Linked DNA regions of Homo sapiens: regions 2 and 3 are each linked to region 1. The links are contacts of gene promoters, found by promoter capture Hi-C in human tissues and cell types (Jung and others, 2019). All regions are on one chromosome and are shown on one strand. Each heading gives the region's core, a stretch centred on a gene start or on the middle of the fragment in contact. The rest is flanking DNA. Distances are from core to core; before and after follow the strand shown.

Region 1 (3,425 bases), core at 862-3,361:
ATTCACCTCCCACCCCATCTGAAAGCCCATTGCAAATTCAGTCCAGCCAGTATTAAACTCCAGCGTTTACAACTTTAATTCAGTTCTAGTTAGCAAGGGTCGAAGAGCTTCCTCTCAACCCACTCCCTTCCCCCTCCTCCTTGCTAGCAAAGGAGACCAAAAATTTGAGAAAATAAAGTTGAATGAGCCTGGGGAGGCTGACATTCTGACGGGGAAACGCACCTCCGATGCAAATTCGCGGGTGCGCTGAACATTCTCAGATTCTCAGATTTTTTTTTTTCCTGGAGGGCGGGGGCGGGGGAACTATTCATTTTCTCCCAAAGAATTTAGATACTGGATCACCGCCCTGTACGTCCCTGCAGTAAGCAGCATGGAGCCTCTCGGACTGGAGCCCAGCACCCAGGCCGCACCGGAGGCTCCGGGCACAGCTGCTCAAGCAGCAGCCCAGGCAGAAGCACCCGGAGTTCCAGGACGCGAGGCTCCCCCTCCCCCACCCCGCCCCAAAGAGAAGGAAGGGAAAACGGAGGAAGAAGGGGAGGGAGGAGAGGGAAGGAAAACCACCCCGCCACATAGACACACACACACACACACACACACACACACACACACACACACACACACACACACCTCTTTTGCAAAGTAAACGATAGACTTACCCAGTCTCACATCTCCAAGGCCCAGTCATCATAGCCACCCTTTAAAAACACACACATACACAAAAACCCTCTTTGGGGTATGCACTAGGTTTCTCAAGCCCAGGCAGGGCGAGGAGACTGCGAGCAGCGCAGTCCCAGAGGCTGGAGGAAAGAGGCGCCCGGACGCCTCCAGCCTGGGGCCGCCGCCGCGGTGGCGACCGCGGGTTCCGGGGCTCCCCAAAAGGCTCTCCCCGGTGCTCTCCGCGGTAGTCGGAGCGGGCAGCAGGGTTGGGGGGTGGAGAGCGGGGGGCGTTCTGCAGCGGCGGGATAGGGAGGCGGCGGGAGGGGGCGGCGGAGGTCCGGCTGGAGAGGCGCCTCGCGGTAGGGGCCGGGAGCCGGAGCCGGGCGGGGCGGGGAGGGGGAGCTGCTGGGAGGGGAGGCACGGAGCGGGAGGAGGGGGACGCGGAGAAGACTGCCTGGCCCCGCCGGCCCCGCCAACGTGACGGTCAGCCCCGCCGAGCGCTCGCACCCGCTCACACTCATGATCACTCGCACACTCGCTCCAATACGTGTTAAGGCGCGATCGCGGGGTCCCTGGCAGCCTTCGCTGCACCCTCCCCCCCACAGGGGTACTCACAGTTGCCATCTGCATAGGGGGCAACTTTCTCCGACCCAGCTGTGGCCGCCGCCCCCTCCAGCCTCCTCTGGCTCCTCGCACCCTCCGGCCTGGGTTCGCGCCGGCCGGCCCTCCCCTCCCCCCTCGGCTCTCCTCCTCGCCGTCTTCACCACATTCCCCCCTGGTCAGTGGCGCACGCCGGGGGACGAGCCAGAGGGAGCGGGTCGCGGGGGTGTGCATGCATCTCCCGCCTTCTTCTTGCAGCGCACACTGTACATGGTAGTGAGGGGGCGAGCAAAGGTGGCACCGGCCCCTCGGCTGCTCCAGCGAAGGCGGCGGCTGCAGCTCCTGCGCTGTCCTCCGCCCCCCAGCGCAGCGGCGACCACCGCGCTGGGATCCCGCCGACGCTGTCTCCGCGCCGAGCCCGCCGCCGCCGCGGCCCCTAATTAGTATTTGAGAGGCTCTTGCATCCCTTTGGCAGTTTCATCCTCACGGTGTTTGCAGGGTTTTTTTCTGTATCCCTTCCCCAGATGCGGCGCACAATCGTCATTAGTTGGAACTCTCTATCACCGACATCCTTTGGGGTTTCTGGGGGAAGGGGGGGGCGGGCAGCAACCGCGTCGTTCTATGCCTGTGGCTTGTCCTGGCAGCCCGGTGGCTCTAAAAAAAACTCCGAGAAAGTTGCGTCTTCCTCCCGGGCGCCGAGGAGGTGGCAACGCGGTAAGCAACACCGGGTCTCTGAGACAGCTGCTCCGGAGCGGGTGCAGGGCCCAGTCCAGTGCACTTGTTTATTGTCGCGCCTCTGGTGCGAGCCAAGCTGCAGCAGACATGATGGGCCCGGGGCGAAGCGGGCGCTCGGTGGCCGATAGATGGCAGCCGAGGGCGAAGGCGTCCCTGGGCTAGGGCGGCGCAACCGGGGCCCCCTTGGATGTCACATTCGTAGGAAGAGAGAGAAGTCTTGGACCATGTGTGTAATTCGAGCGTGGGACTGTGCAATTCTCGGATTGGGAAAGGGAGGAGTGGAAATAACCCCGGCAGTGCCAGGCTTGCTGGTGGTCAGGAACAGATGATTCCAGCCCTGTGCTGATCGCCTGCCTTCCTCCTGCCATTCAGAATGCTGCTGTCTCGTGTACTTACTGTTAAGGATCCTGGAAAAGGGAGTGGTTCCTCCTAGCTGCAAACAAGGGCGCTACTTTTCTTTTCTCTTTAATAGAATTACGTTTTATAGGTGTGTCTAGGCAACACAAGGGAATGTGAAAGACTTTCAGAGGGAATGTTTGTGAATACATCTGGTGTGTACTAAAAAGCTGGAAAACCCCTAAGTAAATGCAATATCGATAGAAAGCGAGTTTCTTGAAGAGTCATCTGCTAAACTCCACTAGAGTCATCTCTACAGTAAGTATTCTTGGGTCTTTCCATGAAACCAGACACTTCCATCCCCAAAAAGGGGTCTTTACTTTCATAAGACATGTTTTCAATATTTGTAATATTAGACCTGCCGTTCATCCCGGGTATAAGAGAAAAGTTGATAATAGTAAGTGACCCAGTGCAGGCTGAGTGCACATGTGCCTGTTCCTTTGATAACTATGTAGTTAGTTTCTCCATGTAAATATATTTTACCCACTTTATTTTGCAATTAATTACGTCTTAATTATTATTGATATTGTTTTATTCTTAGTAATATTTGGGATAATACTGTGTTATAATCTGGTTAATCATATGTTTAATATTGATATAGAGTCTGATAATATGTCTATGTTCTGAGATGTATATATATCTCAGGTGATGAACATTGCAGTCTCCTGAGGTACTGCAATCTTTTTTGAACTTTCCCCTGCGTATGTTGTGTGAATATATATATTTTTACTTTATACCATAAAAACTTTATTTGGAAGCAATTTTGTTTAAGTATGGGTTATATTCAAGGGAGAGGAAGGAAAGAAGTAATATGTAATTTCAGACAATAAAAACAAAATCTTGTAATGAACGTTTCATTAAATTTAGAAGCATTTGACCTAGGAATGATAGCCACTAGCTGTAGATACATTGCATCAACAAATATAACTTACACGTCATCCACAAAAGGCTTATTTCTGTATTTTTTATTCAGTCATTAACTTTTAACATTATATAAACATTTCAGAAAATTTATTTTAAGTTTAAAATTACTTTTA
Region 2 (3,528 bases), core at 931-3,430, 280 kb after region 1:
TAGTTATCAAAACAACATGATACTGGCATAAAAACATGGTACAAAATAGAAAACCCAGAAACAAATCTACATATTTACAGCCAACTGAGTTTTAAAAAAGGGGCCAAGAACTTACATTGAGGAAATAACAATCTCTTCACTAATCTGGGAAAACTGGATATCCATATGCAGAATAAGAAAACTAGACCGCTTTCTCTCACTATATGCAAATATGAACTCGAAATGGATTAAAGACTTAAATGTAAGATGGGGAACTATGAAACTAGTAGAAGAAAACACGGGAAACACTTCAAAACATTGGGTTGGGCGAAGAATTTATGGATAAGATATAAAAAAACACAGCCAATGAAAGCAAAAATAGACAAGAGGCATTATATCAAACTAAAAAGCTTCTGCACAGCAAAGGAAACAATCCACAGAGTGAAGAGAAAACCTGCAGAATAGTAGAAAATACTTACAAACCATTCATCTGATAAAGGATTAATATCTATAATACACAAAACCCCAAACAACTCAACAGCAAAATACCAAATAAATTGGTTTACTTATGAGCAAATTATATGAATAGACATTTCTGAAAAGAAAACATACAAATGTCCAACAAGTGCATAAAAAATAATCGACATCACTAATCATGATAGAAATGCAAATCAAAACCACAATGAGATATGACCTCACTCACATTACAATGGCTACTTACAAAAAGAGAAAAAAATGACAAATACTGGTGAGAATGTGGAGAAAAGAAAGATAACACTTATACACTGTTGGTGGTAATGTAAATTAGCATAGCCATTATGGAAAACACTATAAAAGTTTTTCAAAAAACTAAAAATGGTACTACCATTAAATCAACCAATCCATCTACTGTGTATATATCCAAAGGAAAGGAAATCAATATGTGAAATAGATATCAGCACTCTCATGTTTATTGCTGTGCTATTCATAATACTCAAAACATGGAATCAAACTAACTGTCCATTAATAGATGAATGTATTAAAAATATTTTATATATATATACATACACACACACACACACACACACACACACAATGAAATGCTATTTCGCTATAAGAAAAACCGAAATCCTGCCTTTCATGGCAATATGGATAACCCTGGAGGACATTAAGATAAGTGAAATAAGCCTGGCATCGAAGGATAAATACTGCACATTCTCACTTGTATGTGAAAGCAAAAATAAATTGCTCTCATGGAAGTAGAGTAGAATAATGCTTACTAGAGGCTGGGAAAGGTAGTGGTGAGGGCAGGATAGGGAGAGTTTGGTTAAGGGGTATAAAATTACAGCTAGATAGAAGCAATAGTTTCTAGTTTTCTATAGTACTGTAGAGTGATTACAATTAACAATAATTTATAGCGTATTTTCAAATAGCTAGAAGAGAGGACTTTGAATGTCCCCAACACAAATAAATAATAATTGTTTGAGTTGGTGGATATGCTAATTACCCTTATTTGATCATTACCCATTGAATACACGTATGAAAATCTCACACTGTAGCCCATAAATATGTACAATAATGTGCCAATTAAGAAAATATATGGAGATAAGCTCTCTGAAGCTATTCCAGCACATTCACTTTCCAGCAATATTCATTATTGTGATAAAGTACACACACACAGACAGACATGCATACACATGTATTATGTTACTTTAAACCAACCAAATGTGGATTAATCCAACACATTTTTACACTATTTTAATTTATTCATAGCTTTTAATGACAATGAAAAACTAGGCAGTTTTTTTCTGAATTACATAATCCTCAAACCTCTAATTCATAGCTTCCCAAATTTTGATGAATAAGAAGTTGTGGAAAGCAAATAGAACATTTGAAAACAGGTATAAAAGGCAAAATGAAATACAAGCCTTTCATCTGTAATTAGAGGTTTAAGTTATTAATGTGGTTTCTTAGCAAAGATTTCAGAAGAAAGAATGCATTGCAGCCATCACCATCTCAAAGTGTTCTTGGCATAATTTTGGATGGGGCAATTTATTAAATGAATTCATATTTTTCAGTTCTAAAAAAATTTAAAAAACTGTCTCAGAAACAGTCTGGTGATCTTTGCTAGTGTTCTGGCAGAGTGAAACATAGCTACGGCGGGCACAGTCTTAAAGGATAATTAATTAAAGAAACTGAATTAATTAAAAAAGCTGCAGGAGTTAGGTCTTCATTATGCAAGGTACTTTCTTTTTCATGTTTCCTGTCACTCCTGAGATATATTTTATAAACTGATAGAACCATATGAGACTAAACATGAAGCTCCCATTTAGAGAATAATTCCATGATTACATGAATATGTTATATTGACATTGCCAGGATAAACTCTATGCTCAGCAATGAGAATACATACAGATCTGAATGATATGTCTAGCTTCAGATAAAGCAACAATATTCATGATCCATTGTGTCATGTGCCATGAATCTGAATATCTAATAAAACAGATTCAGAAAATATCAAATTCAGGTCTAACGTGCTACTTTTTATCTGTTGATTCTTTAAAATTACTTAAAGCATGAAATATCAACATGAGATTTTGATACTTGGAATTTTCTTGCAACCATGGTTTTTCCTACAATCATCATTAAAATATCTAGCATATGCTCAACACTTAATATTTACCATTCTACTTACTATACGAATCCCTTTTATATACATTTTCTCAATTAGTTCAAGAAACAGGATCATGGCAATACTTTTCATCCTTATAAAATTAATATAAAATTCTAATTGTAAAAATGTAAAATTAAGCAATTGAAGCTTAGGGAGTTAAAAGAACTTCTCTGTCAAACATTTGAACAGTAGTTTACTTACTCCAAGAGACTCACCTCTAAAGCACTATTTTATACCAACTGGGCTATATATCCAAATTTCAGTTTTGTGTTTGTCATTTTATCAACTTCTTGAAAAAACTAAAATACAACATATATGTAATCTACAATAATATATCATTTAATTACTGCATTTGGTCTGAGGAAATAAAGATTAATCAGACTTAATTATTATCCTCAAGTAAGTCTCAGACTTGTGAAGACCTACTTCGAAGAAAATGATTAGGCCGGGCACGGTGGCTCACACCTGTAATCCTAGCACTTCGGGTAGATTACTTGAGGTCAGGAGTTCGGGACCAGCCTGGCAAACATAGTGAAACCCCTGTCTCTACTAAAGTACAAAAGACTATCTGGGCATTGTGGCACACTCCTGTAATCCCAGCTACCTGGCAAGTTGAGACAGGAGAATCTCTCGAACCGAGAAGCAGAGGTTGCAGTGGTTGAGATCGTGCACTGTAGCCTGGGAGACAGAGAAGTTCTGTGTCTTACCAAAAAAAAAAAAAAGAAGAAGGAGAAGAAAGAAAAGAAAAGAGAGTGATTATATTTACTGTGATAATTGATCCTAGAGGCATAAAGTGCTGTATAAACAACACTTAAGCAGGGCCCAACTTTCTCTGGCACGGCAGGGTTTGATAGGCAGCCTAGGTAGAGAGAAGCAATATACCTTCAACTATATTA
Region 3 (3,125 bases), core at 455-2,954, 340 kb after region 1:
TATAATCCTCTTGTAAGACAGAAAAGTTCTCCAAGTCCCCACTCGACCCAGCAAGTCCAGCTGGCTTCACATCTCAACGTGACTTGGCTGCCGTTAAAGGCATTCAGTTTTATAAAGGAAGCAGAGCATACAAGTTTGGAAAATTTGCAGCCTGATTATGTGATAGAAAAGAAAATCCCATTTTCTGTGGAGAAATTCAAGCTGGCTACAGAAATTTGCATAAGTAGCAAGGAGCCTAATGTTAATCCCCGAGACCATGGGCAAAATGTCTCCAGGCCACGTTAGAGACCTTCATGCCATCCCCTCCCATCATATGCTTGGAGATCCAGGAGGAAAAAGTGGTTTTGTGGCCTGGGCCCAGCGTCCATGTGCTGTATGCAGCCTAGAGACGTAGTGCTCTGTGTGCCAGCTGCTCCAGCCATGGCTCAAAAGGGCCAATGTACAGCTTGAGCTTTGGCTTCAGAGGCTGGAAACCCCAAGCCTTGGCAGTTTCCACGTGGTGTTAAGCCTGCAGTTGCCCAGAAGTCAATAATTGAGGTTTGGGAACCTCTGTCTAGATTTCAGAAGATGTTGGAAATGCCTGGATGCCTAGTAAAAAGTTTGCTACAGGGTCAGGGCCCTCATGGAGAATCTCTGCTAAGGCAGTGCAGAAGGAAAATGTGGAGTCGGAGAACCCCCAAAGAGTCTCTATGGGGCCCTGCTTAGTGGAGCTGTGAGAAGAGGGCCACTGTCCTCCACACCCCAGAAGGGTAGGTCCACCGACAGTTGGACAGATCCACCCACACTTGCACTGTGCACCTGGAAAAGCCACAGACACTCAACTTCAACCCATGAAAACAACCAGGAGGGAGGCTGTACCCTGCAAAGCCACAGGGTCAGAGCTATCAAAGACCATGGGAACCCACCCCTTGCATCAGCATGACCTGGATGTTAGACCTGGAGTCAAAGGAGATCATTTTGGAACTTTGAAATTTGACTGCCCCATTGTATTTTGGACTTGCATGGGCCCTGTAACCCCTTTGTTTTGGCCAATTTCTCCCAAGTGGAATGACTGTATTTACTCGATACCCATACCCCCATTGTATCTACAAAATAACTAGCTTGCTTTTGATTTTACAAGCTCATAGGTGGAAGGCACTTGCCTCGTCGCAGATGAGACTTTGGACTGTGGACTTTTGGGTTAATGTTGAAATGAGTTAAGACTTTTGGGGACTGTTGGGAAGACATGATTGATTTTGACATATGAGGACATGATATTTGGAGGGGTCACAGGCAAAATGATATGATTTGGCTGTGTCCCTACCCAAATCTCAACTTGAATTGTGTCTCCCAGAATTCCCACATGTTGTGGGAGGGACCCAGGGAGAGGTAATTGAATCATGGGTGTTAGTGTTTCCTGTGCTATTCTCGTGATAGTGAATAAGTTTCATGAGATGTGATGGGTTTATCAGGGTTTTCCGCTTTTGCTTTTCCCTCATTTTCTCTTGCCGCCATCATGTAAGAAATGTCTTTTGCCTCCTGCTGTGATTCTGAGACCTCCCTGGCCATGCGGAACTGTAAGTCTAATTATACATCTTTTTCTTCCCAGTCTTGGGTATGTTTTTATCAGTGGCATGAAAGCGAACAAATACAAGCATGTTATTGTACTGAATACTGTAGGGAATTGTAACATGATGTTAGTATTTTTGTAGCTACACATAAAAAAGGTACAGTAAAAATACAATATTGTAATCTTACAGAATCAACATTGTATATGTGATCTGTCCTTGACCAAAATATCATTATGTGACACATGACTGTATGTGGTGTGTTTGTATATATACACAACATCCATATACTGTATATATAAACCATATATATATAATCATATATAAAACCATACGAACACACACATACTCCCCCTACACACAGAGAATATATGATTCCATGCTTCCAAATGTTAAAACTTGGTGAATGTCTTTGATAAGTATATGGAAAATCCTTATACTATGCTTACAATTTTTCTGTAACTTTAAAATTGTTTAAAATAAAAAATGTTAAAAGCAATCCTCTTATGTTTACAATTACCTGTTTATCTGAATGAAATTCTCTATCACTATTTCTTAAGGAAACAATTTTCAAGGAAGAGTTCTATTAAATAGGATAGTGTTTTGTGGGCCAAAGAATGCAGGATAATTTGGAGTTTCTGTCATTCCAGTGGGAGAGACCAAATGTAAGACAGGATTCTTACCAACAAGGCCTTGGGACACTGCCAGTCTGTCAGCATTGTTTTGCTCTGGCGCAGCTCTCCAGGACTTATGCAAGGTTGGGTAACAGCAGGTCCTGACCTGTAGGACTGGCTGGCAGAAACTGAAGCATGCAATCTCAGACTGTGTGACCCACATGGAAACTCCTGTGAAACAGCACAAGCCAGCCGAACAGGATGGTGAATGACAGTCTGAGAGCGGGTGACTGGGTTTGAGCAAGACAAAGACATCAGGAAACCTCAACATTAAAAGAGAACAACAGAAATTTTTATACTTTCTACATTGACCTATGGATGAACAAATGACAGAATACAAATTAAACAATGTAGTCTACCTATTTTAATAACCTAAGTGCATCATCACCAGAATATTGTTGAATCAGAGACAGAAAATATGAATGTATAGCTGTAAAAATATAATTTAGTAGATAAATCTTACTTTGCATTGAAGCCAGATTCTTTGAGACTAAATATAATATATTGAACATCAGAATGAAAAACTATACATAATAATCTAAGCAAAGCTAATATAAAAATATGTTCTTATATACAAGGTACACATTTAACATATATTTGCTCATATAGTGATAAAATGAACACCACTATATTTGGTTTAAGTGTTTTTTAACAATGAAAGGAAAATTAGGAAATAAGTTTCTTTTGAGACATTTTTGTGCTATATAGAGTACATGATGTATCATGAAGATAGGAATGGTTAAAAGCAGATATAGTCATAATTACAAATTAAGTTCAATTCAGTTTGTACATTTCCTTGAATATGGTACTCCAAAAGTACTTAGAAAAGTATGAGCAATGGACCAGCTTTGAGAAACAGTGTTTTTATAATATTTTTATGTAAAAAGAAATATGGAAGATGTAT

Evidence for each region. Contacts are between HindIII fragments. The study calls those that stand out against the background at their distance.
Region 2: a fragment that was not itself captured here is called in contact with the fragment with the promoter of SLITRK5 in region 1 in 1 of the 25 tissues and cell types used here (dorsolateral prefrontal cortex).
Region 3: a fragment that was not itself captured here is called in contact with the fragment with the promoter of SLITRK5 in region 1 in 3 of the 25 tissues and cell types used here (heart left ventricle, lymphoblastoid cells and mesendoderm cells).

Annotation. Positions count from the first base shown.
Region 1 is chr13:87,670,057-87,673,481 of GRCh38, reverse strand. It overlaps SLITRK5 (SLIT and NTRK like family member 5), which reads right to left and starts at 2,111. Exons shown (of 2, transcript NM_001384609.1): 1 at 1,273-2,111. It overlaps LOC124900338 (formin-like protein 5), which reads left to right and starts at 1,115. Exons shown (of 2, transcript XM_047430855.1): 1 at 1,115-2,646. The coding sequence starts at 1,177. The coding sequence ends at 1,701. It overlaps MIR4500HG (MIR4500 host gene), which reads left to right and starts at 2,519. Exons shown (of 6, transcript NR_033829.1): 1 at 2,519-2,646. RefSeq lists an enhancer at 1,883-2,384. The HindIII fragment of the contact is 26,915 bases long and covers 1-3,425 here.
Region 2 is chr13:87,386,527-87,390,054 of GRCh38, reverse strand. The region is part of intron 4 of LOC105370302 (a long non-coding RNA gene); the gene reads right to left. Among named protein-coding and RNA genes, the nearest start is that of MIR4500, 230 kb to the left of the region's middle. The HindIII fragment of the contact is 4,654 bases long and covers 1-3,528 here.
Region 3 is chr13:87,330,572-87,333,696 of GRCh38, reverse strand. No RefSeq gene overlaps it. Among named protein-coding and RNA genes, the nearest start is that of MIR4500, 290 kb to the left of the region's middle. The HindIII fragment of the contact is 5,486 bases long and covers 1-3,125 here.